Linked DNA regions of Homo sapiens: all the other regions are linked to region 1. The links are contacts of gene promoters, found by promoter capture Hi-C in blood cells and fetal thymus (Javierre and others, 2016). All regions are on one chromosome and are shown on one strand. Each heading gives the region's core, a stretch centred on a gene start or on the middle of the fragment in contact. The rest is flanking DNA. Distances are from core to core; before and after follow the strand shown. Region 1 holds the start of GDNF-AS1 (GDNF antisense RNA 1). Region 2 holds the start of EGFLAM-AS4 (EGFLAM antisense RNA 4). Region 3 overlaps WDR70 (WD repeat domain 70). Region 4 holds the start of EGFLAM (EGF like, fibronectin type III and laminin G domains). Region 5 overlaps WDR70 (WD repeat domain 70). Region 6 has its middle 27 kb from the start of EGFLAM. Region 7 has its middle 45 kb from the start of EGFLAM.

Evidence for each region. Contacts are between HindIII fragments. The CHiCAGO score rates a contact against its expected background, and 5 or more counts as called.
Region 2: a contact is called between the fragment with the promoter of EGFLAM-AS4 here and the fragment with the promoter of GDNF-AS1 in region 1, in 2 of 17 cell types (M1 macrophages and M0 macrophages). The highest score is 6.0, in M1 macrophages.
Region 3: a fragment that was not itself captured here is called in contact with the fragment with the promoter of GDNF-AS1 in region 1 in 1 of 17 cell types (endothelial precursors); the score reaches 5.2 in endothelial precursors.
Region 4: the fragment with the promoter of EGFLAM here is called in contact with the fragment with the promoter of GDNF-AS1 in region 1 in 3 of 17 cell types (M0 macrophages, M1 macrophages and M2 macrophages); the score reaches 6.5 in M0 macrophages.
Region 5: a contact is called between a fragment that was not itself captured here and the fragment with the promoter of GDNF-AS1 in region 1, in 2 of 17 cell types (megakaryocytes and endothelial precursors). The highest score is 7.1, in megakaryocytes.
Region 6: a contact is called between a fragment that was not itself captured here and the fragment with the promoter of GDNF-AS1 in region 1, in 1 of 17 cell types (M0 macrophages). The highest score is 5.9, in M0 macrophages.
Region 7: a fragment that was not itself captured here is called in contact with the fragment with the promoter of GDNF-AS1 in region 1 in 6 of 17 cell types (M2 macrophages, M1 macrophages, M0 macrophages and 3 more); the score reaches 9.2 in M2 macrophages.

The regions. Positions count from the first base shown.
Region 1 is chr5:37,838,014-37,842,293 of GRCh38, reverse strand. GDNF-AS1 (GDNF antisense RNA 1) reads right to left here and starts at 2,410. Exons shown (of 4, transcript NR_145476.1): 1 at 2,256-2,410. GDNF (glial cell derived neurotrophic factor) reads left to right here and starts at 2,253. Exons shown (of 3, transcript NM_000514.4): 1 at 2,253-2,787. RefSeq lists an enhancer at 2,392-3,329. The HindIII fragment of the contact is 7,909 bases long and covers 543-4,280 here.
Region 2 is chr5:38,288,566-38,292,845 of GRCh38, reverse strand. It overlaps EGFLAM-AS4 (EGFLAM antisense RNA 4), which reads left to right and starts at 1,860. Exons shown (of 4, transcript NR_046219.1): 1 at 1,860-2,246. The region is part of intron 1 of EGFLAM (EGF like, fibronectin type III and laminin G domains); the gene reads right to left. The HindIII fragment of the contact is 6,902 bases long and covers 1-2,445 here.
Region 3 is chr5:37,397,941-37,402,220 of GRCh38, reverse strand. The region is part of intron 5 of WDR70 (WD repeat domain 70); the gene reads right to left. Among named protein-coding and RNA genes, the nearest start is that of WDR70, 21 kb to the right of the region's middle. The HindIII fragment of the contact is 2,385 bases long and covers 1,238-3,622 here.
Region 4 is chr5:38,256,146-38,260,425 of GRCh38, reverse strand. EGFLAM (EGF like, fibronectin type III and laminin G domains) reads right to left here and starts at 1,867. Exons shown (of 22, transcript NM_152403.4): 1 at 1,575-1,867. The coding sequence starts at 1,671. LOC124900966 (a long non-coding RNA gene) reads left to right here and starts at 1,760. Exons shown (of 2, transcript XR_007058739.1): 1 at 1,760-1,832; 2 at 2,795-3,329. RefSeq lists an enhancer at 2,736-3,237. The HindIII fragment of the contact is 7,534 bases long and covers 1-4,280 here.
Region 5 is chr5:37,433,009-37,437,288 of GRCh38, reverse strand. The region is part of intron 5 of WDR70 (WD repeat domain 70); the gene reads right to left. Among named protein-coding and RNA genes, the nearest start is that of WDR70, 56 kb to the right of the region's middle. RefSeq lists an enhancer at 4,154-4,280. The HindIII fragment of the contact is 1,471 bases long and covers 1,341-2,811 here.
Region 6 is chr5:38,229,251-38,233,530 of GRCh38, reverse strand. No RefSeq gene overlaps it. Among named protein-coding and RNA genes, the nearest start is that of EGFLAM, 27 kb to the left of the region's middle. The HindIII fragment of the contact is 2,904 bases long and covers 696-3,599 here.
Region 7 is chr5:38,211,162-38,215,441 of GRCh38, reverse strand. No RefSeq gene overlaps it. Among named protein-coding and RNA genes, the nearest start is that of EGFLAM, 45 kb to the left of the region's middle. The HindIII fragment of the contact is 5,545 bases long and covers 1-4,280 here.

The sequences.
Region 1 (4,280 bases), core at 1,161-3,660:
CAGGAGCAGAAGCCAAAGGACACCCAGGGGAAAACAGCGAGAGAGGAGCTGAATCACCTTGGCGGCTAAGCCGTTAGTGGGGATCGGCAGATGCCTGCTGCTGAGGGGGCAGCGAGATAACCCAGTCACAGAGCTGTATCCTGAATGACCTTCCAGTTCCTGAACTTCAATCCAGTTTTCATGAGGCCTGGCTGGGTGGCCTTTCCGGAAGGCTTTTCGGAGACACGTGGCGGAATGGTGGAGATTCCGGTCAGCCTTCCTTCCACAGTAAATTCCCATTACTGAGGGTAAACCTCAGTGGTATCTGTTCCTTGCAACCCCCGCCCCCCGCCCAAAAAAAAAGCCCAATCAGCACAATGCCCAGGGCCTAGCACTTTGCCTGGCACACAGCAAGTGCTAGATATTTGCAGGTGCTTGGACGGGCTGATCATCCCCAGCAAAAAGCCCTCTAAAAATAAAGAAATCATTCAGAGTAAGAACATTGATGAGGGTCGTCTTCAAATTCCAAAAACAATGCTAAACGGCAATAAATATATTAAGCTTATTCTGCCCTCTAATTTCTGAATCTAACTACATTTCTACCATAAATCTATCAAAGAGGGAAATGTCATTTTCTGCAGAACTCCAGAGAGCATCCTAATTTCAGCTAAGGTATGTTTTGATGACTCGATTTTCACTTCGCTTAATCTTAAATCACAGCAACGTTAGTAAGAACAATTTTCCTCCCACACTCGCTTCACTGACAAACCTGCAAAGTAGCTGATCTTTGACTTTTAAGAAGTTTAATAATACATGATCTTCCCCCCACACTGCCACACGCATTTCCCCTGCCTATTGTCTGTATCAGCTACTTGAAGAACACATACTCCCCAACAACCGGATGAGTCATAAAATAAGAGGTACATGGACGTAAACTGAGCCTGTTTACACTTTCCCTGGCCCCAGCTAATAAAATAAAAGAGGTCCCACTGAATTCAGGTCCAATGGCTTCCGGAAAACAGGTTTCTGCTTAGCAAAGACATGCCCTATTTAGTACATTATTTTAGAGGTACAGCCAATTCCATGCCCCATGTGAATGAAATGTATTTATGGTTATAGCCATGCACAGGGTGTGTAAGGACTTGCCCTCCTCCTGTCCTCTACAAAAGAAGGCTCAGGCAGCTTCTGGTGGTGAACTAACCAACAAAAGGAATGCCCAGAAGGTCTCACCTCTCCCATCCACAGAGCTCTGGAATGGGGGCCGGGCCCCTGATCGCTGGAAACTCAGCATCCAAGTGGGCGCTTGCTGAAGTTTCCCATCTGCATTTTCGAAAATCTGGATAAAAGCAGGTTTAGCTCAACCTCCCCTAACCCGTTCCTGATAAAGTGATCTTACGCCTCTGGAATTGGGATTTTGAATGTATGTGCCTGCCCCATGTCTGGTATTAGATTACAACAGCATGAAAATGGAGCCTAGGACTGAGGAGCCGGCCAGCCTCAGAAGCCTTCTTCATTGCCTGCCATGTAATACATGATATGCAAAGCCTCTGACTTCAGCCAGCAGATATTTGGAGACCGTGTTGGCCTTAGCATGGGGACTAAACTAATGTGTGTTTAGGTCAGAAAGCGAATCAGAAAAGCCACTGGAGGGCACGTCACGGAGTGAGAGCCCTATAAATTCATCCCCACTCGCAGCGTCCCCTGGCAAATACTCGGCTTCCCTCACCCGGCCGCTCCGCACCTCTCCTTCTCGGTGCTAGAACTCCGGCCGGCAGCTCCTTTTCTCGCCACTGCCTCCTGCCCTGCGGAGAAGCGAGAGGGCGAGACACCCGAGCGGGAAGGCCGGCCTTCGACAGGCGCGAGGAAAGCCCGGCGCTGCCCTGCACCGGCAGAGCGCCACCCTCCCAGTGCGGCGCGCGGGGGCAAAGCCCGGCGCGGGCGCCGCGGTCAAGTTCGGATTGCCCCTTTCGGCTGGCCCGCGCAGAGCGCCGCACATTCCTCTCGATTTTTGATCCACCCGGAGAGGAGAAGGCGCTAGCCCCGCGGCGTCTCCGCGCTCTCAGCGCTCTCCCTGCAGCCCAGGGAGGGGCGCCTCGCGTCGCCCACTCGCACCCCGGCCCCCCGCCTCGGGAACTCCAGGGCCTCCTCGCTGCTCTCCTCTCCTCCCCCACCGCCAGGCCCAGCCGACGCCTCCCGACCCCTCCCTCCCGGGGCCCCGCGCCTCCCCTCCCCCACCCCGGACCCCGGACCCCCAGCCCGGGCTCTAGAAGACCAGCCTGCGCTCCTGGCGCCCTCATGTCTTCACGGGACTCCCCGCGCCGGTTGACGTGGTGTCTCGTTCGGATCTCCAGGCAAGACCTCAGCTCCGGCAGCAGCATCAGACAAACCAGTCTCGTGCTCCCAGGCAGTGCGCCCAGAGGAGGCGCAGAGCGCGGCAGCTGCCGCTGAGCCGCCCGCAGCGCCCCGGGCCCGCGCAGCCCCAGCCAAGAGCGCGACGCGCGCAGCCCTGTCAGCCCCCCACCCAAAGCAGCGGCGGCTGCTCGGACCTCGGCTTCTGGGGGTGCGGGGGCCCGGCGGGAGAGTTGCCGGCAGCCCTCGCCCTGTTGGCGGCGGCGGCGGCGGGAGTCTTGGCCGCCGCCTCCAGCGCGCCCTTGCTGCCCCGCGCGACCCCAGGATTGCGAACTCTTGCCCCTGACCTGTTGGGCGGGGCTCCGCGCTCCAGCCATCAGCCCGGATGGGTCTCCTGGCTGGGACTTGGGGCACCTGGAGTTAATGTCCAACCTAGGGTCTGCGGAGACCCGATCCGAGGTAAGTGAGGGAGCGGGCCGGGGAGCAGGGAGCGGGTGGTGCCTGCGTCGCGGGTGGGTGCGGCCGGCTGAAGGGCGCCCTAGTCAGAGGGGTGCGTCTGGACCCCAGAGCAAACGGTGAGAGTAGAAAGTGGAAAGACTAGAGGGAACCTAAGCTATGCGAGGAGAGAGAAAAGTAGAACCGGAGAGAGGCCGGCCTTTCGGAGGGGCATGTTGCCTTTTCCACGTGGGCAAAGATCTGTGGAGCCCCAGATGCGCCTGGACCCGGAATGCCCAAGAGGGGCAGTTTCCTTCCCCGACTCGGCCAGGTGCTCTTCCGTCAAGTCACAGAACGATTCAGGGCTTGGGTCATCTTCGAACCCACCGCCGTCGAAATGTGTCCTCTCTGGACGTGCAGAGATACTATCATTGCCAAGAGTGCAACTTACTATTGAGCTTGTTTTGATCTGTGCCAAGGAAAAGCGCAGGCCGGGGGAGGGGCTGCTGCAAAGGTGCTGAGAACCTAAAAATGGAGGGCTCACCTCCTCCGGGCGAGGTCTGGCAAAGCTACATTCCTCACCCGGTTGCCTGCACGTTCCTAACGCCCTCCACCCCAACTAACCATCCCCGTCGAGGTTAGGAGAGGGGCTTTCTTGCCAGTCCTGGATTCAAATCTCTGTCTCGAACGTATTCTTGAGACTCCACTAGGCCATTGAGGTTATTATTTTAATGACCCCTTTTTCTCCTGTACTCTGTGCCGCCTTCCAAAAACACCCCACCACCACTGCCACTACTTTACACCACCTCGAGGCTAATTCCGCACTGGTGGTTTGTTTCCTGCCCCAACGAAGAAAAACGAACCCTCTTCGGGCTGGAAACGGACTTTCGCGGGTTCCCGCCAGCTTCCTGGGGCCCAGCTAGTTTCGGCTTTGGTAGAATCCGCCGCCAGGACCCATGTGCGCGCCCCCGGGGGGCTTACCCATCCCAGAGCTCGCGACCCTTCTGCTCATAGGCGGGGACAAAGGCAACTCTTCCGGCCCCTGCTGCGGAGATGTTAGAACGCGCTCGACTCTTGCTCAGTGTTTGGAATATATGCTTAGGTATTTCAAGGAAGAGATGTTTCTTCCAACCTCATTCACGCACCCAGTCCCGCAAAGCCGTCAAAGCCGGCCTCGACCAAACTCGTACTGTTTCGCTGCGCCTTCGCTTTGTCAGGGAAGGTGGCGCCTTTTCAACAAGTAACAAGTGTCCGATCTCTGGGAAGTCCGCCGTGTCCCTAGCCCTTTCCCGCTAGCAATTCGGGTGCTCTCGGGCCTGGAACCTGGCCCTTTAAACAGACCGCTTTCCCAGTTTGCCTGCGAGAAGTGTCCCAAATTCTTTTTCCTTCCCTCATCTTGGGCCCCGCAGTTATGGGGGGTTGAGGGGAGAATAAGTCCTCTGTCAGTCAAGGACACGAAGCATAGTTAAGAAAAGCAATAGATCTTCCAGCAATTTCTGTCTCTACCTCCCCCCGCC
Region 2 (4,280 bases), core at 611-3,110, 450 kb before region 1:
ATAATTATAGTTGTTCACATGGCTCTTTATGCTGTCTTTTCCTTCCAACATTGCCACAAAATTTAACTCCTCCAGAAAGTTCTCCTTGATTAATCACACATGCCACCCAACCCCCAGCCCTGATCAATCTTCTTACAGCTATTTATACAAAATTTTCATGATAGGAACACATACTTTTGCATAGTATACTTAAATTGCCTCTATGTGTACAGGTGGGTACTATCCCTTTAGTATACCTGGAATAGTTGTGCAATTTTGATACAGGAATAATATCAACTCAAGACCTGGGTGTTCAGTTAGCATTCAGCAGCGAACTGGGGAACACATGTGATTAACAAATGGGATGATTTCAAAACCTGGAAGATGAAAGCAAACTTTTAGGTTACCTGTACTTGCAAGAGACCGCCACTGGGCAGCCAACTTTTTCAATGTTTTCCTTTTAAACTTTTCATTTAAGCAGCAGTGACAAACACATGAAACACGACAAAGCCATTCCTCAAACAAACTCTTAGCCATGTAAGAACAAAGGAGTGGACAATGAAATCAGAAGGCAACTCATTTAACACAGATAAAAGAAAATGCTTTTTTTTGTCTACTGTATAATTAACTTATAAATTTGCTGTGCAGGAAATTATTGAAGCAAGTAATGTGATAAGACATTGTTAAGGATTTGATTAGGAATATTCTGTTTCTGCACATCTGGGGGGAAAATGAGAAAGGCCACTTATCTTTGGTTAGAGTGAATCACCATCTGTGGCCAGAAGTTTCTGTCTTGGGCTCAGCATTTCAAACTGAAGGTCAATATTAACAAGCAGGGGTTGGGGTTACCATGTTAGAAAACTTCACAGGTTGCAAAACCCAGAAAGTGACTCCATGGACGAGGCTGGGGCCATTGATTGTGCTGTTACTTCTTGACGCAGAGCTCTGCAGTGCAATAGAAATCTAAAAGCCATTCTTCAGAAACATGTAAGCGAGGAAGAGCCAGGTGGAATTTCCCTCTTCGGTCCATGCCATTTTTCTTAGACTATGAAAAGTGCAACTCTGAATACCAGGTGACAGCCCTGAAGAGTTGCTTCCTTTTTCTAGCCCTGAACCAAACAAAGCCAAAGGTTTTTGTCACCTCCTAATCATTAGCAATCCTTGGCATATGGCTGAGAGTGTCAGGTTTCTGGGCAATTTTCCTTAAGGTTAATTGCATTCTCTTTGTCATGTCATCAGAATTGAGCAAACCATTTTCATTCCACTTCTATTTCTAATGGGAATAATGACAGGTACACATTTCCAGATAAGACACGTGGAGACACGTGGAGAGGAACCTGCTGCAAATTGCTGGAAACCACCCTGCCCTCATGAGTCAGCTCCCTCTTCTGTTCCTACTCAGGAGTGGAAACTGCAAGTGGCCACACAGATGCCAGAGGTTGGGTGAGTAGAGAAGCTGGTAGTGGTGCAGGAAGCAGAGAAACAGAAAACCTTCTCCTCCCCAAATCCAGACTTCAGTGTGACCTTTGGGAAGGTCAGCCAACATGGGCCGAAAATGAAATGAATATGCATATGGATATTGTGTGCACATTTACAGTCATATTTACCTGCCTTATTCCACCAAATATTTGAAGCAACTTAATAAAATACAGTCCATGCCCCCAAGGAGTCTACAGTCTAATCCAGAAAAAGATCTCTAAGTGTATCCCTGCTATGCGAGACACCACAGAGTGAGTGTGGCAGGAGCATAACTGACCCCTGCAGGGTTTTGTTTTGTTTTTTTTGGAGACGGAGTCTCGCTCTGTCAGGCTGAAGTGCAGTGGCGCTATCTCGGCTCACTGCAAGCTCCGCCTCCCGGGTTCACGCCATTCTCCTGCCTCAGCCTCCCCGAGTAGCTGGGATTACAGGCGACTGCCGCCACCACGCCCGGCTAATTTTTTAAGTATTTTTAGTAGAGACGGGTTTCACCGCGTTAGCCAGCATGGTCTTGATCTCCTGACCTCGTGATCTGCCCTCCTCGGCCTCCCAAAGTGCTGGGATTACAGGCGTGAGCCACCGCGCCCGGCCGACCCCTGTAGGGTTTTAAAGGAGAGAGGCAGCATCCCAGAGGGCAAAAAGGGCTTCATTCATGGAGAAAGCAACTGAGCTGGGCAGAGCACAGACGGAATTTGAATTGGAGGCCAGAGGCAAAGGGAACTCCAAGTGGAAGAAGAAACGGCATGAAAAAAGGGATTGAGAAGGAAAAGGACAAGATGGTTTGGAGAGAGGTCAGTAATCCATTTTTTTTTTGGTTAGAGCACAGAGCTATCTCCAGTAGTAGCAAGTAGTAAGAGGTCAGGGTGAACAGATAGTGGGTTTTGGAACAAGACTGGGTTTAAATCTTGCTCACTGCACTGTTCTGTAACATGTGCTGTCAATGCTCATATCCTGTCGGGGTTATCGGCACAGTTCCAGAAAACTGAAGCTTCCTCGCCTCTGCTTATGGGTATATCCTGGCTGACAGCTTGTGCTTGGCTACTGTGGCAGGGCAGGTGGACTTGCTGGGGAGTTAACATCTCAAGAACAAGTCTCAACCAAGGAGGGATAGGAATCGGTGGAAAACTAGTCCAGCTCCTTAGCCCACAGTGCGGAGCGCTGTTCTACAGGCTCTCAGAGGGTCTGCAGCTGTGCTGAGCCCCAGCTGCTCACAGTGGTGACTCACTCATCACATTACTGACCCTCTACCCCGACCCTTCCTTGGGCTTCCTGGCACCCAAGTCTTCATCTCTGTGGTCTGATTTTGGAAAAATCCAAACTAAGACACTCTTTAATGCTCAGTTTGCTCATCTGTCAAATGTGGGTAATAATGTCCACCTGAATAACTGTTGTGAGCTAAGATAATGGGTATAAAGAACCTAGCAAAGTGCCTGACAGAGTAAGTGCTTCACAAATATTGGCTATTCATTAAATGTTAGAGATCCTTACATTCTGGGCTGTTTGATAGTGGGAACTGCCAAAAGACTTTAAGTAATGGAGTGCTTTGAGGAGACTACCGTGGCCTTCCTTAGAGGACCTTGGCCTTCTTTGGAGAAACTTAGTCTTGAATGCAGGACCCTGGCCTTCCTTGTATATCCCTAGTCTTCATTATAGAATTCTTGCCTTCAGTGTAGGATATCCGATATCCATTTCTCCATGCGTTCCAAGCCCATGAGAGGTTTACATGTTTCTGCCATGTGACTCGTTCTGGCCAATGGTTGTGAGTGGAAGTTAGTGTCATTTCTTGAACAGAACATTTGTCAGTGTGAGATCCTTCTGTCCACTTTCCTCCTCTATCAGAAACTGACAAAATTCTAAGTAGTGGAGCTTGGGTCACTCAGTAAAGATGCTTCAGAGATCAGTCTCTTATAATCTACCATGGCAGTGTAGCATGAACCACATTTGTTTCAAGCCATTGAGGTTTGTGGCTGCTTGTTGCTGCAGCATTATCTAGCTTACTCCGACTAATACAGATGGGTATGAATCAGAAACACTGAAAGTAAGCTAGTTAGGAGCCTATTACAGGTTTCAAGTAAAAAGAATCTGAAATAAGACCTGGAAACTGAAATGTGGGGGCGGGGAAAGAAAGAGTAATTGCCAAGGAAGAAGAATTAGCAGGTAGAGAAGGAGAGGAAAGGAATTAAAGATGACTCCAGGATACAAGCTTAGCAAACTGAAAGGAAGATGATATCATAAAAGAAAGAGGCAAGAGTAGAGGAAGAGGGGTGTCAGGGAGGCTGGTTTGCTATGAGACCTGAGTTTAAAGAGGTTCTGCTTTGTACCACCAAAGGAAGACTTCCTATTCCCACTCCCCCATAAGGGCAGGAATTGGATTAATAAGGAGATGAGCCACAGAGGGTTTCTCTAAGGTTACCCTCATAAAAGCATGTGGTGATCACAGACCCAATTATAGGACATGAGGGTGGGGTAGCTTCTACTTGGGGCTTGCTTCTACCTTATAACACAGTGCTTTCCCTACCACTCAAAACCACCCCAATATTGAAGAAACAACACATGTCTGGTCTACAGAGCCAGAGAAGCAGTTGCTCAACAATTTGGTTAATTTAATATTGTCTAGACAACTGAAATATGTAACTTGTTAAAGAAAAAACAAATATTTGTTATCTCCTTTCTTATAGTCTGAGAGTCTTTTACCACAAGAAAATTAGCATTTAGTCTGTCCTAAGCTTCATTATGTAACTGAACAATACCACTTCTCTCCAATAATTGGTAAGAGACCTATATTTTCTCAGCTCATGAACCAAAGCGTTAGGAGCTCAAAACTC
Region 3 (4,280 bases), core at 1,181-3,680, 440 kb after region 1:
TGTGTTAAGTGAAATAAGCCAGGCACAGAAAGATAAATACCACATGTTCTCATTCAGATGAAGCTAAATAAACTGATCTCATAAAAGTGGAGAGAATAGTAGAAACAGAAACGAAAGGGTGAAAAGGGTAGGAAAAAGAGGGGTATAAAGAGAGTTTGGTTAACAGATACAAAATTACAGCTAGACAGAAAGAATAAGTTCTAGTGTTCTATAGCATTGTAAAGTAACTATAGTTAACAACTGTTTACTCCATATTTTCAAAGAGCTAAAAGTGAGAATTTTGAATATTGCCAACACAAAGAGATGATCAGTGTTTTACGCAATGGATATGCTAATCACCCTGATTTGATCATTACACTCTGTATACAGGTGTGGAGGATCACACTCTACCCCAGAAATATGTACAATTATGTCAATTAAAAATAATCTGTCAATTAAAAAAAATCCTTAAAAATATAATCTTGGCCAGGCACAATGACTCACGTCTGTAATACCAACACTTTGGAAAGTCAAGGTGGCAGGATGGCTTGAGCCCAGGTGAGACCAGCATGGCCAAGATGGTGAGACCCCCACCTCTACAAAAATTTTAAAAATAAAAAATTTGGCCTGGGTAAGGTGGCTCACTCCTGTAATCCTAGCACTTTGGGAGGCCAAGGTAGGTGGATTACCTGAGGTCAGGAGTTCAAGACCAGCCTGGCCAACATGGTGAAACTCCGTCTCTACTAAAAATACAAAAAATTAGCTGGGTGCAGTGGCGCGTGCCTGTAATTCCAGCTACTCAGGAGGCTGAGGCAGGAGAATTGCTTGAACCCAGGAGGCGGAGGTTGCAGTGAGCCGAGATTGCACCACTGCACTCCAGCCTGGGCAATAGAGCAAGACTCCGTCTCAAAAAAAAAAAAAAAAATTAATCTTTGGCTGGGCAGTGACTCAAGCCTGTAATCCCAGCACTTTGGGAGGCCAAGACAGGAGGATCACTTGAGCCCAGGAGTTTGAGACGAGCTGGGCAATGTAGTAAGACCTCATCTCTACTAAAAAAAAAAAAAAAAAAAAAAAAAATAGCTAGGTGTAGAGGCACATGCCTGTAATCCCAGCTACTCGGGAGGCTGAGGTGGGAGGATCACTTAAGCCCAGGAGGTCAAGGATGTAGTGAGCTTTGATTACACCACTGTACTCCAGCCTGGGTGACAGAGAGACCCCATCTCAAAAAAACACAAAAACTGTAATCCTCTACAAAGCTTACCAAATTACACATCCTCCAGAGAGTATTTATTCATACTTTCTGGATTTGATCTCATCCTCCTCATCTTTCTACTTTCTCCTAGTAAGAAAACTCAGCCATGCACTAATCAGGTACAATTTCATGACCATAGCTGTACTTATATACATTTGGGCCTTCGCTATAGCAATTTTTTTCTGGCTTGCAATATGCTTCTTTCTTCCCTTCTGTTTATCAGCCATTAGTCAGCCTTGCAAACCTGTATTAGCTCACACAACCATAAACAAAATACCACAGACTGGGTGACTTAAAACAATAGAGATGTATTTGCTGACAGGTCTGGAGGCTAGAGGTCCACAATCAAAATATGGACAAATGTGGTTTCTGGTGACACCTCTCTTCCTGGCTTGTAGACGACCACTTTCTGCTATGTCCTCAAAAAGCCATTCTTCCTTTCCCGTGGGAGAGGAGGAGTTAGTGCACGCTTTCTGGTGACTCTTTTTATAAAGACACTAATTCTATGAGATCAGTGGAAGTAATGTAGACAATAAGAGAGTACACTTTTCTGTAGAGAACTTAAAAACAATGATAAAATCAAGCAAAGATAAGCCTGCTTTTTATTATCACCTGGTGATGGCAATTATAAACAATGTTAGTTTAGACACTACTTAATGTTCTTTTTGCTATGGTTCCTATCGAGTTTTAATAACATATATGTGAACTTCAATTAACATATTTGTATTACTTATCTTTTAATAAACACTGTATTCTGGCCAGGTGCAGTGGCTCACACCTGTAATCCCAGCACTTTGGGAGGCCGAGGCAGGTGGATCACCTGAGGTTAGGAATGCAAGACCAGCTGGGGCAACATGGTGAAACCCCATCACTACTAAAAATACAAAAAATTAGCCAGGCGTGGTGGCAGATGCCTGTAATCCCAGCTACTCAGGAAGCTGAGGCAGGAGAATCACTTGAACCCGGGAGACGGAGGTTGCAGTGAGCTGAGATCATGCCACTGCACTCCAGCCTGGGCAACAGAGTGAGACTCCATCTCAAAAATAAATGAATAAATAAATAATAAAAATAAATAACCACTGTATTCTACACGAAGTTAATCTGGAGAACTCCCAGTTATCTGCACCACACACATGCACAAACACACTCACCTACTCGGGTCTCTACACACTGTTTTTCATGGTTCAGAATCATTCAAGCTCATTTCAAGGGTAATTTCCTATCTCCAATCCCTGTTGTACTACGTTTCTGCATTTAAATACTAGATTCAAAATAAACAAAGATTATAAAGACAAAGAAACAAAATGCTAAGCAAATCCAATTCTGTTTTCTATGGATGCCAAAAGAAAAAACAAAAGACATGGTTGGCAAAAGAATTTAAAACGGTAAATGTTTGAATACCTCAATTGTTTTCACCAAAAGCATTCTAAAGCAATGGATCATTTAATGGCAATGTTTGACATCATTTAGCCATTTTCTCTGATTTTTAGAGAAAAAAATTTAGAAGTTTTTACCAAATATAAAATGAATTTTCTGTAAAAACACTTTCATGAAAAAAAAATTTTTTTTTGAGACAGAGTCTTGCTCTGTTGCCAGGCTAGAGTGCAGTGGTGCAATCTTGACTCACTGCAGAGTCGGCCTTGCGGGTTCAAGCAATTCCCCTGCCTCAGCCTCCTGTCACCATGCCTGGCTAATTTTTTTTGTGTGTGTGTGAGACAGAGTCTCGCTCTGTCACCCAGACTGGAGTGCAGTGGCGCCATCTCGGCTCACTGCAAGCTCTGCCTCCCAGGTTCACGCCATTCTCCTGCCTCAGCCTCCCGAGTAGCTGGGACTACAGGCGCCCACCACCATGCCCGGCTAATTTTTTGTATTTTTAGTAGAGATGGGTTTTCACCGTGTTAGCCAGGATGGTCTCGACCTCCTGACCTCGTGATCCGCCCATCTCGGCCTCCCAAAGTGCTGGGATTACAGGCGTGAGCCACTACGCCCAGCCTATTTTTGTATTTTCTTAGTAGAGTCAAGGTTTCACCATGTTGGCCAGGCTAGTCTCAAACTCCTGACCTCAAGTGATCAGCACTCCTCAGCCTCCCAAAGTACTGGGATTACAGGCGTGCGCCACAGTGCCCAGTCAAAATATTTCAACCTACAGAGATATTTAAAAGCCACTAGAACTGATAAAAGAAAAAATATACAATCAACATTGCAATTTCTGGAACTTACTGTAAAACAAAAATTTTAATGAAACTGCCAAATTTATTCTTATTTTATTCTTGTTTGTTTTCTTAATTTTACATATGCACACACATGAATGCATGTGCATATGTGTGTATATATACTATAGATCTGTTATTTCATATGAAAGAAAAATGTACAAAATTGAAATTAGAAGCTTTATTTGATCAACTACAGACAGACGCAAATTGACAAATTTGCTGTACTATGTACTGAGAAGGAATACGCAAAGAATACCGATTTTGACAGTCATTGACAGATTTACAAAAGCTGTTGCTTTTCTGATTACTTTTCATTTCATTTCATAATTATTACTAAAAATAATTCATCACATAAAGAAGGGAGGTGTTAAAAAATTATCTACCCCAAGTGCGGCCGGGCGCAGTGGCTCACGCCTGTCCCAGCACTTTGGGAGGCCGAGGCGGGCAGATCACGAGGTCAGGAGATCGAGACCATCCTGGCTAACACGGTGAAACCTCATCTCTACTAAAAATACGAAAAATCAGCTGGGCGTGGTGGCGGGTGCCTGTAGTCTCAGCTACTCAGGAGGCTGAGGCAGGAGAATGGCATGAACCCGGGAGGCGAAGCTTGCAGTGAGCGGAGATGGCGCCACCACATTCCAGCCTCGGTGACAGAGTGAGACTCCCGTCTCAAAAAAAAAAAAAAAAAATTATCTACCCCAAGTGTCAAATACAAATGTAGACCATTTCCTTCAGCATTCTTTCCTTTCAGTATTTTGGAGATTATATCTTTTTTTTTTTTTTTTCTGAGACCGAATCTGTCACCCAGGCTGGAGAGCAGTGGTGCAATCTCGGCT
Region 4 (4,280 bases), core at 618-3,117, 420 kb before region 1:
TTATACAACAGGTTTTTATAAAATGCTTTTTAAAAATTCCCCTTAAATGGATTAAAATATATCCTTTAAAAAGCATTGCATACACTGTTCATGCTTTAAAACTATAGATATAACTATGCTTTGTTTAAAAATTGTGACAATTAATAGATGATTTCATGTGAATAAATCTGCAAAATGCAATTGATCGTGATGTGGTTATCTTAAGGAGGAAAGTTAGAAAGAAGCCCTTCACTGAAATCCTTGAAGGTATATGTATGTGTGCGTGCAGGAAGAGAAACAATTTAATGTGATATTACCTTGGACTGAAGCTATTATCTCCAAAATGAATTGAAGAGCTCATAAATGGAGTGGCTCATAATTTAAATATGGTGTAGATTATGATAATGACCTTAGATTTCAAGGCAGGTAACAAGTGCTGGTAATAAGAGACACAGTGCAAAGACTGAGGACGCTTCCAGAGCCGAAATGCAACAAGTCATATTTCCAGATAGAGAGTTTCAATGCGAAAATATTTAAGCATTCACATGGGATCCCGCTAAGACGATTTTCTCTGCCCTCTGATAAATTTTCCTAGCTTTGCCTCTTTCTTACAGAAACGTTTGTGAAGACAAACTGCACTTTCTGTGAGGTTTTGCAGACTGCATTCAAATAAAAGTAATATTGTTTTCCATTGTTCATAAGATATAATTAATCCCATAAGACAACCTCCCTTACAAAGTAAGTTAAGACAAAACAGATTTTTCAGAATTCTAAATATGGTCCCAGCAAAAAGTAATAAAAATCGTTATTTGGGAAACAATGTTTAGAACTTCATTGTTCAGAATGTTCTACTTTGAATAATCTCACAGCATAGGCCAAATCAAAGTAGACCAAAATAAACGAAGACTTTTTACCTATATGCAGCTAGAGGAAACACACGTTATTATGGTTTCAAGTTCTCCCCCAATTCCCAGTCCCTTATAACAGGTTACAACGTACATTTCTTTGTTTAAATGCCAAAGCAAAGACAGGAGTTCAAAACACGGTAAAATTAACCCACTGGGTGCTTCCTTCTGAACAAATGGCCCCAGAGTGGAAGAGGATGCTAAGAGCAGAGTCCACATCCCTGCACAACGCGTGGGCAGGACCCGAGATGGGCAGAGGGGGCTCCAGGCAACCCTTCAGACACTTAACAGGAAATGGCTGGGCTCTGGACAATATGAATTGAGTAAAATGTTTGGAGACGCAGGAGGGGCTGGTTTGACTCCTCTGCATGGTTGCCATCCTCTGTAATTGAGACAGCACGATCGCTGTCCCAACTGTCAGCTCTCTGCGGTCAAACACGGGGACCACCACCTCTATCTACTATGTCTGGAAAATTGATCATTCTTTTAATAAATAAATATCCCTAGCGCCGCCCGGGCTCGGGGGAGGGCGAGGTTTGCGTCTTTTCTCAGCTCCTGGCAGAGCTGAAGCGAGTTAAGCAGACGTTGGTCGGGGAGAGGGAGGCGGTGCGCTGCCCGCTCTGTGTCCTCGCCCCGGAGCCCAGCAGGGGCGCTCGGGGCGTGGTGGCTCTGGGCGGAGGAGCGCATTACCTGGTTTTCGGATGGCCGCTCGGAGCGACACCGCGCCGGGTCCGAGGCTGGAAGCCAGGAGCAGGAGCCGGAGCAAGACGCCTCGGATTAAATCCATTTCGCAGCCGGCGCCTGCAAAGTTTCACCAAGTCCCGGGCGCACACGGAAAGGGCGTCTCCGGGGGCGCGTGGGGGACGCGGCCCCAACGGATCCCCGGGCCGGGGCGAGGAGGTGGGGGGCTGCGAGGGCTGGGCCCGGAAACACGGGTAGTTCCAAGAGGTAGGACTGCAGCCGGGAGGTCGGCGTGCGCGAGTGAAGCCGGCTGCAAGCTGCAGGGCTTTTCGCGGGGGCGGGGGCGACGAAGGAGGCCGACTGGGAGGGAAGGGCTGGCCGCGGGAGGGAGGGAGGCTCGACCGGCCCGGGGATGAAATTACAATCGAGTGGAAGTGAGAGGGACAGGCCCTGAAACCTTCACTCCTCGCCCACCTCGGAAGCAGACAGCCCGCCCCTCACCCTCTCTAGCGACCCCCAGCGCAGCCCTTCCCCGCTGGTGACCTAGATTGGGGACCTGGGAGGGACCGACTTCAAGCACTGGAGACGCAGGGCAGGAGTTAGGCGACTGCGGGTCCAGGACCCTCCGCGGTCCTCACCCTGAAATCTTGGGGCGCCCCCCCTCCACCCCACCTGGGCCCTCCTCCTGCCGCGCCCCTCTAGGCGACTTTTTCTAACACCTCAAAGGTTGCTGTAGTTGGTCCAGCGCACTTGGGGGATGCGAGGGGTAGACGGGGGTCTGTGATTTGCAAGTGGGGTGGGGGTGAGAGGAAGAGAGGCGGGACCGTCCGGGTCTGAGGCGCTAAGAAGATAAATGGGATTTAAGGCTCGCAGATGGAGAGCTGAGGCCAGGCCGCTCAGACTGGGACGCCGGGTGGAGATTAGGGCCTGGAGCGGGGGAGTGGGGGCCCTTCCCGGCAGAGGAAGGCAACTTGAGACCCTCCTGGGGAGGAGATGAAACTCCAAGTTAAGCCTGGCGTCTTAGGGAGGGACGCGAGCTCGAGCCCCCAGGCGGACCGAGAAAAGCCCCTGGGCGGCGCCCAGCTGGGCCTGGGGCAGGGGGCCGGGGCGGGGTCCTGGCCTCTGATCCCGGGATCGGGCTTCCTGGGTTGTCTCCTGAATGGAGAAAGACTCTTTCTCCGCCGCTGAATTTGCTGCCCTAGGACTCAGTAAAATGTACCTTTTGCCAGATTTCGCGGTAGTGCCTGGAGAGGGGAGACCCTGCCTGGGACACAAGTCCCGTTGCATACTGGCGTTCTGACCTCCAAACCAGCGAGAAGAGAAAGCAGATACAATAAATAAACCAAGAGGGAATAAACTTAGAGGCAAACGCGGCCCTCGGCAGTTCCTGGGGAAAGATCAAAGGCCGTAGGAAGTGCCCCGCAGAGGAAATCTGCAGTCACTAGCGACAGGACCGCGCCCGCCCCCTCCCCACCTTGCAACGCTGCCAGGACTCGGTGGGCGTCCTGGCTCTTCACAGTTAGCCTATGTTTGGGAGCGCGGGAGGAAACAATGTTGACTGATATATTCTTCTCCCCTCCCCAGCCCCCCAAACACACACACACAGGATTTCTACTCCTCTTTTAAGAATGAAATATCCCCTGGCTGGAGAGTTTGTAATGAGCTCAATCTTGTTAGTTAGCAAAGCTGAGTGTGTTCCCTTATGTGTTGGCATTTTCAAGTGTGCAATTGTCTGTTCACAAATAAATTCAAAGTCCCCTCCAACTTGAGTATTTGGAAGTTTTAGCTGTGACACCAGAGCTTGTCCTCTTACATAGAACTGGAGCAAAGTTCAGACAGAACTATGCTCTTCACGTCCAAGGTGACCATAAAGCCGGCCACTAAGCTAAGCAAAGTGACTGCCCCCAAGGCTGCTAGTCTCAAAGGTCTCAAAATCATAGACTTTTTAGCATTTTAAAGGTCATCTAGGCCATGCCTCCACTCCACGCAGGAGTCTGCTTTCAGCATTGGTGTCGGGTCGTGCCACCTCCCTTTGAACTCCACCTGTGTGAGAGAGCTCCTCCAGCGCCAGCTGAGAAGTTGTTAGAGGCCTTTCTTTATGCGAAAGTGATTTCTTATCTCGGACTTAATGTGGCACCCAGAACCAAGCGAGTGTTGCAATGCAGATGCCTCCCATGCAGGCTTTCCTACTTAAAAATGATTCTCTGTGATGCTGAAACTGGAAGTAATAATAATCGTTGATATTATGGCTACCATTTATTTAAGGTCTCCTATGTACCAGACCTTCTTTGAAGTGCATTTTAATCCCAATAACAACCATACCAGGAAGATACTGTCATTACTATTCTCGCCTTTTACAGGTGAGGAACCTGAAGCATGGGAAGGTTAAGAAACTTGCCCAAGGTCATGCAGCTCCCATGCAGCGCTTGAATCCAAGGGGTCTGATTCCAGCTTTCAGGCTTTTGAGAGAACAATGTGGAAAGTAAACACAGCAGTGGACTGAGAGGATCGGGAGATGTGGGTGTTTAATCCTAGGCTCTGCGTATAGTGTGCCTTGGTAAAAATGAATGGGCTGGACGAAACAATCAGTAAATTCCAGGTTTTGCTTTCTCTTTAATAGCTGATAAAACAGCATCATCTAATCTAAGCTACCTTTACTCTGCATGTGCCTTTTAACAGACCCTGTGCAAATTGTCCACTGCAAATTTCGCAAGC
Region 5 (4,280 bases), core at 827-3,326, 400 kb after region 1:
TCAAAGTTAAAAAGAAAATTGTTCAAAAATGGTAAAAATAAGAAACTCCAAATCATTCACTGATTCATTGGTTCAATAAGCATTTACTGAAGTGGGATTGTACCAGTTGTTAGGTGGCAGCAGACACGGTCTCTTCTCATCCCTCCCACACAAGAAGCATATGGTCTAACAGGGAGATATCAATGGCTCTACTTCAGTATAATGAATGCTATCATAGACAGGAGTATGGGCAGAACAACTGAGGGACAGTAAAGAGGAATGCATAAATCAGACATAAGAGGTTACAGTGATCATTTAAATCAGAGGTTTCATTGTTTATTCAAGTCTCATTACTCAAGAGCAGGCTAATCCTACTAATATTATATGTCTATTACAAATTCAAGAATCATCTCACAATCTACTTAATTAAACATGTGACCTAACAGCTTTTTCTATCTTCAATCTTTCCCCTGCTATGGCTCTTTCTCTTCAGCATATAAACAAAGTATTAATACTTACCATAGTAAAAAAACAAAAACTAAAAGACTACTGACTTCCCCTAAAATTTATTGCTCAATCGTTATCTTTTCTTCTGCAATCCCGCTTTTTCAAACTATGGCTTCCCTCAGTGTCCCCACTTTCTTTCACCCCCTACCTCAATTTTGGCATTTATCATTTTATTCCTAATTCTTAGCACAGTTCTTGGCACATAAGAGGCTCTCAGTAAATAGTTCTAAATGAACAAACAAGTCACTATAAATCCCTCTGCACACTTTACAGAACTTAATCTACATACACGAACTTTCAACAGCATGGTAACTATTTATCTCCTCCATCTTGAAACTGTCCTTTGCTGGGAGGAAATAGCCTACAGAAAAAGCCAGAAATGCTAGAGTTTTTTAAACTAGCAATGCCATTAATTAACCATGTGATGACTTCAGCAAAGTTATGACTCTCAGTTTCATTTGCAAACTATGAATAATAGCACCTGCCCCACAGGTTACAGTGAAGTAAGTGGTTTCAAACTCCTAACAGAGTTTGGCACATGGTAGAGCTCAATAAATGATAGCCACTATGTATTCCAAGGCTTACCTCCTATATTGGCCACATCATCTTAGAGTGTTTTTCCAGGCTTCTTTTCCTCTTTACCTGGCTAATTTTTATTCATCCCTCAAAACTCAATTCAGATGTGACCAGCTGCTCAAAGCACTTCTCAACATTTCAAACACTGGGTTAAATGACCCTCTTATGCATTTCTATGGCATTTCCTTATCTCAGTCACAGAACTTACGATAATACATTGTAATTTTTTACCTATCTCCCCCACCACCACCCCCTTATCAAACTGCAAAATATAAGCTTCTCAAAGACTATATCTATTTATCATCTCTGGATCCCCTATGCACCAAAAAGCTGGTATATGGCAGACATACATACACACACAGAGAGGTTTTAGAAATGAATAAATGGCCCACTGTCTACCTTGTTCATCACACTAGATTGTAATTTTTAATTAACTCTCAAATTTTAGAGTAATGATCATGTCCATAAAGAAAAGCAGGTGCTATCACATCAGGCCAGCCTGGTAAGTGAGAGGCAAGAGATAACTAAGATTTTCAAAAGCTGAAAACCTTTTAAGACCAAATTATTATATCCCAGACTAAAAGCAGATTGAAGATTGCAACAATACAGAAATAAAGGTAGTTTTGTTTTAGACTGTAAAGAAACAGTTGGGGAATTGCAGTTTTTTTCAAGACAAAGACATTACTGTTTTGTTTACTATACTGTGGAAAGTGCTGCACATACCTCTTTCAGAGATATCAATATTCAAACACAAATTCCAAAACAATTTAAAGGTCAAATTCTGGACTATTCCTACACTGAATAATCTGAGTCACTACTCTCTTTGCAGCTGACCACATTTGAACATAATGAAAACTCATTTGTAAGTGCTAAATATTCTTGCAAGAACCAAGATAATACTTGAAATGTTCTACTTACAGAAGAGTCTATCATAGTTTGTACCTCATTTCATAACTACTTTTTCATCACTCAGCAAATAGAAATACTGTCACCAAAAAGATAGGATGAAAATTATTTCATTTATTTCAATGCAGAATGTGCCTATATATAGACAATTTCTAACACTTAAAAAAATTTACAAGGACACACAACTTAGTATTTATATTAGGAGTGAATTAACCATTTAAATAAATGTTTACATTTAAAATCAAAGTTTTACTGGAAGTCATGCATGGCATAACTCATAAAAATCCCATATAATTGGCACAGCTAAATCATCTAAAATAGTAGCAATCCATCTTTTGGTAGCATATCACTTGATGGTGACTGTTCTTTTTCCAGAACTTTTACTAATGACTTTTTGAAATATAGCTTAGTGTGAAATTTGCTATAACAGTAAAATATTTTCAAGATTTTCCTGCCAAGGAACATCATAAACTATTTGACTTCGATGAAGTAATTTATTACCAGAATTCATAACAAGAGCTACAGTCCCAATGGAAGAGAGGAAAATATACCATTTTTTGTTTTGGCTTAATTTTGAAAACCAACCAAAGGATTATTTCCCAGGCTCTGTGGTCTACACCCAATAACAACAATGATGGTAAATATATCTAAAATAATATGAGCAATTCTATCTGATGAACATCCTTACAGAAATTTCAAATGACTTACAAATCAGAAACAACCCTTCTAGGCTAAGGTCACATACAACTATAAGCCATAATTAAACCTCTACCCAATAACAAAGATCTGCTACAAAGTTGCTGGGTGCTGGGGGAAGACAGTAAGGACTGCCAAAAAGAAGCTTGAAAATGAGCGCTATTTTCTCGCAGAAATCACTGAAGTACAGCTACCAGTGCAGGCAACCAGAATTAAAGTCTATTCTAGTGAAACTATGGAGATCTAATAACACTAACTTAACATTAATTCATTTCTTCATTGATATGGTTCGGCTGTGACCCCACCCAAAATCTCATCTTGAATTGTAATCCCCACATTCCCAGGACCAGGTGGAGGTAACTGGATCATGGGGGCAGTTTCCCCATGCTGTTCTCCTGAGAGTGAGTCTCAGAAGATCTGATGGTTTTTTATAAGCATTTGACATTTCCCCTGCTTGCATGTCGCACTCTGTCTTGCCACCCTATGAAGAAGGTGTTTCTCCTTTGCCTTCTGCCGTGATTGTAAGTGTCCTGAGGCCTCCCCAGAAGTGTGAAACTGTGAGTCAATTAAACCTCTTTCCTTTACAAATTATCCAGTCTTGTGTATTTCTTCATAGCAGTGTGAGAATGAACTAATACCTTCATTTACTCACTAAACATTCACTTAAGAAACATTTATTATTTAATTACATACCACACACTGGGTTAGATTAATGATAAAAGAACTATTAACAAAGACTCTGCTTACACAGAACTGTCAGTCCAGAAAAGCAAAATAAGACAGGTAAACAAATGGGCAAATGAAAATGTTTCAGTTGCTGTAACAGAAGTATACACAGGGTTCAGTGCTCAATTCCATTCTGCCTAAGAAAGTAGGTGGTTAGAAAAGAGATTTCTGGTATCTTTCAAAAAATAGAGGTTATCTAGATGAATATGATGAACATCCAGGAGAGAATAATATAAATCTTGACACTTTCTGAACTTCAAGTATTTTTCCCTTACTAGAGTTTGAATTGCTAGGCAGAAAATAGAGCAAGGGTGTATGTGTTATACATATACAGCACTATGCCATTTTTATATAAGGGACTTCAGCATCCTTGCATTTGGGGATCAGCAGGAGAGTCCTGGAGCCAATTCCTCTCAAAGGGCCAACTGTATACATAAAAGCCAGAGAGAGAGTTCCAAATCAGGCTGTATACAATTCCAAAAAACAGAAGTTTAAGCTCTGAGTCATAGAAAGTAATTTGATAAAGTCTGAGATTTTAGGCCAGGCACGGTGGCTCATGCCTGTAATCCCAGTACTTTGTAAGGCCAAGGTAGGCGGATCACTTGAGGCCAGGAGTTTGAGACCAGCCTGACCAACATGGTGAAACCCCATCTCTACTAAAAATACAAAAATTAGCCAGGCGTGGTAGCACACACCTGTAATTCTAACTACTTGGGAGGCTGAGGCACATGAATTGCTTGAACCTAGGAGGTGAGGGTTGCAATGAGCCAAGATCGTGCCACTGTACTCCAGCCCAGGTGACTGAGACTCTGTTCAACAACAACAAAAAAAAATCTGAGATTTTAAAATATCGCCAAGGTGTTCTGGGCATCAAAAGAGATAATCAATAC
Region 6 (4,280 bases), core at 898-3,397, 390 kb before region 1:
ACCTAGGAACTCTGTGCTGCTAAATTGCTTAGGCCAGCTCACAATAGAAGTAGAAAAAAAAAAGAGAAAGATTGTCACCAATTGAGGATATAACTCATTCTAGATAGGGGAAAAAGCCAAGCAAAGAAGCCCTGTCCCATGAAGTCATAACCACTCAGGCTTCCATGTCACACAGAACTCTGTCCTTCCGAGTCAAAGATGACATTATCTCTGCATGTTTCTGTGCCTGGAAGACCACCCCCAGATTAATAGCCCTTTCAACTCAGTGGAAGACAGTTCTTTGATTTGGGGCAGCAATTATTTTTACAAAGCCAGTTATTGTTGGCAACTTTGCTGCTTTAAACTATGGTATGTGCTTAGAAAGATCGCCTCCTTTCCAGCTGCTTGATACCAGACAAAATTTCCAACAATTCTTTTACAGGGATTGTAAGGATTAAGTGAAACAGTTATGTAGAGCCTGCCCCTTTGTAAACACTCTATAAATGTGAGGCGTTTGTTATAATCTTCTACACGTAATGTGGCTTCTCTCTCATAAGGATCCAGGTTTGTTTGTTTTTTTAATTAACCCCTGCTCTTCCCATTGTGCTTTTATTCATGAAATTCTACAATTTTAGGGCAGAAAAGGACCTTCAAGATCATCTGACCTAACTTCTCTCATTTAATTCCCTCATCTCTGCCTGATCACTGAGAAAGCTTGAGGACTTATCTTCTTATCTATACATTTCCATATGGAGACAGAAGCAACATTAATACAGCAGACTTTAGAATCATGTAGCCAATAATAGGCAACCAGAATGCTTTATTCCAACCAAAACATGAGTCAAAAAATGTTTAAAGCTATAGAAAAATAAAATACAGAACAACTTTGTCAACAGTTCAAATCACTGTAATACAAATATTTCAAATACAAATACCCTTTCCCTTTCCTCCTCTAGGGTTTGGGGAGCTTACTCACTTCATGAAATAATTTTGGAAAGCACCTTAAAGAGTTTATTCATTCACATGTTTATCCAATCAACACATTTTAATAAGATACATGATTAGGTTTTCCTCATAATGATTAAGATGATCATTAGAAGCACAGAATTCCCAAAGCTCTATCTCCATCCTTAACCAGCCTTTCTCCTTGCATTTTCATTTCCTTCTCCAGTTTTGCAGAGTTGGTCCAAACTTCACTCTTTTCATAGATATTCATGGGACATCTATTCAATGTCAACTCTTTGCACAGGGGATATAGCAGTAAAGCAGCTAAACATAGCCCTGGCTCTTATGGAGTTGATGTTCTGGTGAACTTTCAGTATTTAGGATTCCTTTGTACTTACACATGTTGAAAGTTACATTTATTTAGATTCCACTAACATTCGTCAAGTTCACTTGGGTTACCTGGCATTTTCACGTGCATTGTCTCTTTATTCCTTATGACAACCTTGCAAAGTAAGTATTGCTATCCTAATTCATCCAAGATCACACAGCTGTAGTTAAGTGATGGAGGCAGAATTAGAACGCAGGTTTTCTAATTCCAGGTCCCATGTTCTCTCTCTCTGTCTCTTGCCACAGTTGCACAATGAACTTTTCCAGGTACCACCCCCCTTCTCTTACGTGTGCATTTCCTGGCATCTTCAGCCTGGCTGGTCTTAATTCTCAATTGTTGTTTTCTCACCCCGCCCAACCTCTCTCACTCCTCTCTCACCTCCCTACCCCAAGCCCAAACGCTTCGGTGTCTTACAAATTTGTTTCTGTTCAGCATCTTTAGGTCTAGGCTATTTTATTTACTTAGCCCTTCTGCAGGACCAGGGAGGCCAAACAAATCGCTGGGACCTTGCGTCACTGGAATTCTTTGGGAGAATTCCTCCCTAGTGGAGGAGTCCAACATCAGTTGTTGCAAAGAATTTATTATATAATAATAATCATTTATGATATCTATCACATTAAAAATGCTTATATCCTGTGCTCATTGGTATTTGATAATAGATATGCATGCTCATATGTGCAAAATGACATTATTGGGCAAAGCTACTCATTAAAACACTGTTACGGCAAGAGGTTGGAAACAACCTAAATACAGCGCATGGCACATCCATAAACTGGAATACTATATGGAAAAGGGAGGAAGTTCTTTATATATGTGTATGGAAAGATCTTATAGAAGTTATTGTTAAGTTTAAAAAGAAGAGTTCTAGAGAATATTTATAGTTTAATATATTTGTATGGAAACTTGAAATATATACATGTTTATTTATATATACACAGAATACTTTGAGAAGATATAAAATAAATTGTTAACAGTGGTAGATTCCAGAGAAGAAAACTAGGTTTCTAGAAGTCAAGGGAGAAAGGGGACTTGCTTTTTTATTGGATGTTCTTTTATTTTGTTTGGATAGTATATGCATTGTATTATCTAATTATACAAAAAATTATTTAGAAAATTGAATGATAAGATGCTCTTAAGATATTTAGGCTGCTCAAGAACAAAGCCAATTTTAAGTGTTAGATGATTCCTTGAAATTTAAGTGTCGGGAACCTAAGAGTGCTACTTACAGTATTTTGTTTGCCCATACACCTAAGTAAAAAGCTAAAAGTTAAACAATATCAATGCATTAGCTACCAACAGATAGACTGAAGTTAAAAATAAATTGCATGTTATAGATGTGATATTGATTTGAATTTTTATAATCATCAAACCTAATTAGGTTTATAAACCCATTGCTCTATAACAATGTAAAAGGGAATACTTAGAACATCATTAGGAGCTCATTAAAATAGAACTATGGGAAAATGTTCTGTTAAATCAGGAAAAGAAAAGGAATGAAAAAGCAATTTCCCTCTAAACTTATAACAAGAGGCACATGCTCAGCCATTGCTAATCACACTCTCCTAACTCATTTAATTACCAAATGTCTTTTTAGTGTTAAAGTCAATTGTAAAAATAAATTTGCATGTTTTAGATGTCATGGCTTCTGCATTGAAAGAAACATTAATTTTAAATGGAAAACGCTAGAGTGCTCTTTAGTATGCTCTGGCAGAGCTGGTTAGCTGTCTTTTTATGCAACTGTGGTGTACATAGTCAGATACTACTGCATGCCAGTTTTATGAGCAATTAAAATCCTGTCCTTGAACCACACCAGCTCGATTGTGTGTCCCTTCTCAAGCTGAACTTTGATGCAGCTGTAAGAGTGCTTGATATAAGGCTGTTGGAGAATAAGTTGCTTTCATTCTGCTGAACCATAAAGGACTCATCACTGAGGACACAAAGGTGAAGGCCCAGCAGCCAAATGTGTGAAAGTTAGAGCTAGAAAACTGAGTTTCAAAATGCTCACATCAACATTCAGAATGTTAACTTCTTCCCTACTCCTCTTCCTCTAGGATTGTGTCAGTCATAGACTAACTGCTGGAATAAGCCGTTGCAAATGTCTGGTTATTTCTCACTCATGTCTGAGTTTAACGCAGATTGGTGGGAGAGTGGGAAAGGGAGGGAAAGGAGCCTGCTCTAAGCAGTCATTCAAGGATCCAGGATTCCTCTGTCTTGTGGCCCCACCATATCCAAGACACGGAGTCAAACTTTTTTGTACTATGGACCTATTTAACAGCCTGATGAAGCTTAAGGACCTCCCTCAGAATAGTATATTTAAATGTATAACATGAATTACTTGGCACTACAAAACCAATAATATTCAAATATTGTTATCTAAATATTTAAGAAATTGTGATATAGGTGCTTCCTTATTAGAATAAGATCCAGAGGCAAGTGTAAGTAATAACCACAGTGTCCCAGTAGTGATGATCACACAGCATATTGTGATCTTATCAATAACTGTAATATGATATGAAAGTACCTGTTATTTCTATTGGTGCCAAAGTCTATAGGTGACAGGTACTATTAATTTTTCTGTGGTTTGTTGCTTTCATTTGTAATAGAAAAAAATATACTAGATTTCAGTTTACCAGGGAAAGATGCATTTTTTTTTTTTTTTTTTTTTGAGACACAGTCTCACTCTTTTGCCCAGGCTGGAGTGCAGTGGCCCAATCTCGGCTCACTGTAAGCTCCGCCTCCCTGATTCAAGTGATTCTCCTGCCTCAACCTCCCCAGTAGCTGGGACTACAGGCGCCCGCCACCACGCCTGGCTAATTTTTTGTATTTTTAGTAGAGACGGGGTTTCACCGTGTTAGCCAAGATGGTCTCGATCTCCTGACCTCGTGATCTGCCTGCCTTGGCCTCCCAAAGTGCTGGGATTACAGGCGTGAGCCACTGTGCCCAGCCGAAAGATGCATTTTTTTTCCCC
Region 7 (4,280 bases), core at 977-3,476, 370 kb before region 1:
TGTGTCCTCCCAAAATTCATATAAAAATCCTAACCACCCAATGTGATGGTCTCGGGAGCTGGGTCCTTTCAGAGGTAATTAGGTCATGAGAGTGGAGCCGTCATGAATGGGATTTGTGTCCTTGTAAGAAGGGTCAGGAGAGGATTCTTTTTCTATCCCTGCTCTCCAGCCTCTGGAGAGGCAACAAGAACATGGCCTTCACAAAGAACCCAATCAGGCTGGTGTCCTGCTTTTGGAATTCCAACCTCTAGAACTGTGAGAAATAAGTTTCTATTGTTTAACTCACCCAGTAGTCTATGACAATTTGTTATAGCATTCTGAACTGTCTAAGACAGTGATTGTAAAATAAATATATGCTCAAAGTCAAAGAAAATAAAGAAAAGCACACTGGGAGAAATGACATCACTTAGCCCACCTAACCTTCTCTCCTCTAAACTCCTGTGATGTGTAAACGGTGTGTCCCATTCCTTTGGGCACCTGGAAATATACCGTCCTGACTCTTGAGGCTTGTCCCAGGAGGACCGCTTCTCATCTGGCTCTGCCCAACAAAGCAAGGGGTTCTGACACTTTTCAAAACTCCTTATCCTATTCTAGCACCAGAGCCTTCTTTGGCTCCAATACACGACATGAGCTCAAAGCCATACTCCATCTCCTGTCACCCATTAGCTTCTTGGGAGTCCCCACATCCCCCGGCTTGACCTCAGACGATTTAGCTTTGGAAACTTGGCCCATGCCTTGTAAAACTTAGTCAATCTCCATGGCATCAGAGGTGACATGCTCACAAAAGTTTAGGGACCAAGAAGGCCACCACTTTTTACAACTCCCAGAAGCACATTCATGCTGTATTTATATGAGGAAAGCCCTCGCAGTCACAACAGGAGTGGATGGTACCTTAGGAGCTGGGCAACATGGCAGCCTGGTGGCCAGCATTCTCAGAGAAGGATTGCGTGGGCCTGGCAGAGTGCTCACTCAGGCTTGCTGTTGCTGTTGGTAGCAGGGGCCACACCTCACACAGTCACGTGCCACATTTCCTGCTCAGATGCAGACCCTCTTCCGTGGTGGCTGACACTCAGCTTTGTCTTTGCTGGTCATGCAAAAGGCCACTCATACCTTAGCTTGACCCACAGCTCATCTTAAAACAGACCCTAATTGCCCATTCTGGAACGATGTGAAATAATCTCCAACTTGCAAAATAATTCCAGCCAATGCCTACATGTAGTGAAAGTGTCAATCTGAGCCAGAGGACCATGTTACACATCAGATGTCCTGCACTTAAATTGAAGCATGCAGTCTGAAAGTATTCTGATGAAAAATGCAAAGGGATAAAAGTACATGGCTTATGTACTCCTCATGCTTATTATTAAAATAATTCCTATTGCCCCTTTATTTGTGCCAAGTTGATTTTTTTACTATTGACTGGACAAAAAATGATGATATGCCCAACCTCTTTCTTTTAGTTTTTTAAACTAAAAACTCACACCAATCCTAGGTATGACTGACATTTAAAGTTGTGTTAAAGTGATTAACATTTCTTTCTGCTCCCTCCTCATTCTCTTTTCTCTATCAGTCCTCCCTTGACCCTAGGCACCTTGTCTTTATTTTTTTTTAAACTTTTATTTCCGGTTCAGGGGTACATGTGCAGGATGTGTAGGTTTGTTACACAGGTAAACGTGTGTCACACAGGTTTGTTGTACCAATTATTTCATCACCTAGGTATTAAGCCTAGTATCCATTAGCTACTTTTCCTCATCCTCCTCCCCCTTCCCACCCTACACGCGCTGATAGGCCTCAGTGTGTGTTTTTCCCCTTTATGTATCCATGTATTCTCATTATTTAGCTCCCACTTATAAGACAGAACATGCAGTATCTGGTTTTCTGTTCTTGCATTAGTTTGCTAAGAATCATGGCCTTCAGCTAAATCCATGTCCCTGCAAAGGACATTATCTCATTCATTTTTATGGCTGCATAGTAGTCCATGGTATGTATGTACCATATTTTCTTTATCCAGTCTATCATTGATGGGCATTTGGGTTGATTCCGTGTATTTGTTTTTGTGAATAGTGCTGCAGTGAACATTTGTGTGCATGTGTCTTTATAACAGAATGATTTATATTACTTTGGGTATACACCCAGTAATGAGATTGCTGGGTTATTTTTTGACTTTTTAATAACAGCCATTCTGAAAACTGGTGTGAGATGGTATCTCATTGTGGTTTTGATTTCCATTTCTGTAATGATCAGTGACGTTGAACTTTTTTTCATATGCTTTTTGGCCACACGTATGTCTTCTTTTGAAAGGTATTTGCTCATGTCTTTAAATAACCCCTGGAACCTTGAACCCCAGCTGTTTTGGGTTCTTCACTTCCAGGAAATCTCGGTCTATGAGACTTTTCCTTTCCAAAATGTATCTTTCTTAGGCCCTATTCATTTACCTTCCAATAAATAATACCTGATGCATTGGTTTTTATTTATGATTACTAATAACTTAATGTACTACCCTTCCTAAAATCATACACCTGCATGCAAGTGCATTCATAGACATTTAAATAAGATCCATTAGAACCTTAACCCAAAGGAATCAGCAGGGATGAAATGTTAAAATAGCCACAAGTGCAGATATTTGGGAATAAGATTGCCTAAAACTATAACTGAAATAACAACAGGTTAAACTGGATTGTTACTGTCTTCACTCAAAAAAAGCCTTGTCCATCTCCTCACCTCTCCTCTGTATCCTAATTAAATATGCTAGATATGACTAACAGGGTCACCTATCACTTCTTCCTCTGCACATCATGGGGTAACATCTTCCCATGACAAAAACAAATAGGTTCCCACCTTTGAGGAAGAAGAGGTCTTTGTATTCTTAAAACTCTAGAATTTGAACAGTACCAGAATCTCAGTGGATATCTTATTAGTCAGGATAGGCTAGCTGGTGCTTCAGTAACAAATAGCCCCAAATCTTACTGGCTTTTTAAAAAAGGTATGTTTAATGTTTATGCACCATGAGGTTTCAATTGGGAGTTCTGCTCTGCATTGCTCATACTCTGAGACCCAGCTGACAGAGCTCCCACTTTCTGGAACATTTCTGGTTGCCATAGTGGAAGGAAAGATGAGTAAAGAGAATGGGGGATGTGTGCATCCTGGCCATTAAAGTTTGGTCAGAAGTTACATGTATCACTTCCTCTAAAACTTTATTCCCCAAAGCAAGCCCCATGGCCACATTTACCTACAAGTGGATTTGGACACAAAATTCAACCACATGCCTGTAAGAACAGAATCAGAATATTTATGAAAAGCCCAAGTAATTATAATTTAGAGTATCTAGAAGATAACCCAACATGAAAACAAAGCAAAACTCTTGTGGTCCTATAGTGAAGGTGGTGGTTTGACTATGTCTTTTCACAATCCAGCAGGTTTGTGAATTTAGAGTACCACACACTATTATTTCACAGTAAAATGCCAAGAGCAAAACCTGGCATTTAACAAGAGTCATTATTACTATTACTATTATAATTATTGCTATTACTACAGAATTATTATTGTGATAAGTGGGAAAAGACATCGAGGGGTATGAAATGATTACCTAAGAACACACAGCTAATTAGGAACACAGTGAAGATGAGAACACACATTTATTGAATCCAAGATGGGAGTATTTTTCTCTCAACTCATCCCAATGCATAGGAAAGACATAATCAAACCCATTGGATTGTGAAAAGACATAGTCAAACCACTGCCTTCAATATAGGGCCACAAACGTTTTGCTTTGTTTTCATGTTGGGTTATCTTCTAGAGCAGTGTTCAGCAAACTCTTTCTGTAAAGGATCAGACAGTAAATATTTTTGGCTTTGCAGACCATATGGTTTCTGTCACGACTAATCAACTATGCCGTTGCAGCACAAAAACAGCTACAGATAATATCTAAACAAATAGGCACAACTGTGTTCCACTACAACGTTCTTTACAAAAACACACAGCAGAATGGATTTGGCCAGCGAGCTGTTTGCCAGCCTCTGTTCTCGAGCATCCTCCAGTGGGGAAACACTACTTAAGGGAAAGTCTAAGAAGAAGGGAAACAAAGAAACCTTAGTGTGCCCCGGTTTCCTCTAGAGTCAAAAGCCCACCTTGTAGGGTGATGGTGAAGATTGAACAAGCTGATACATGCAATGCACTTAGAGGAGTGCCCGGCACCTGGTAAGCCCCCCAGTCACCTCCATGAATGGTGATTTCCCCTCACTGAGCGTCAGCCACTGTCCTAGGTGCTGGAGGTTCAATTGCAA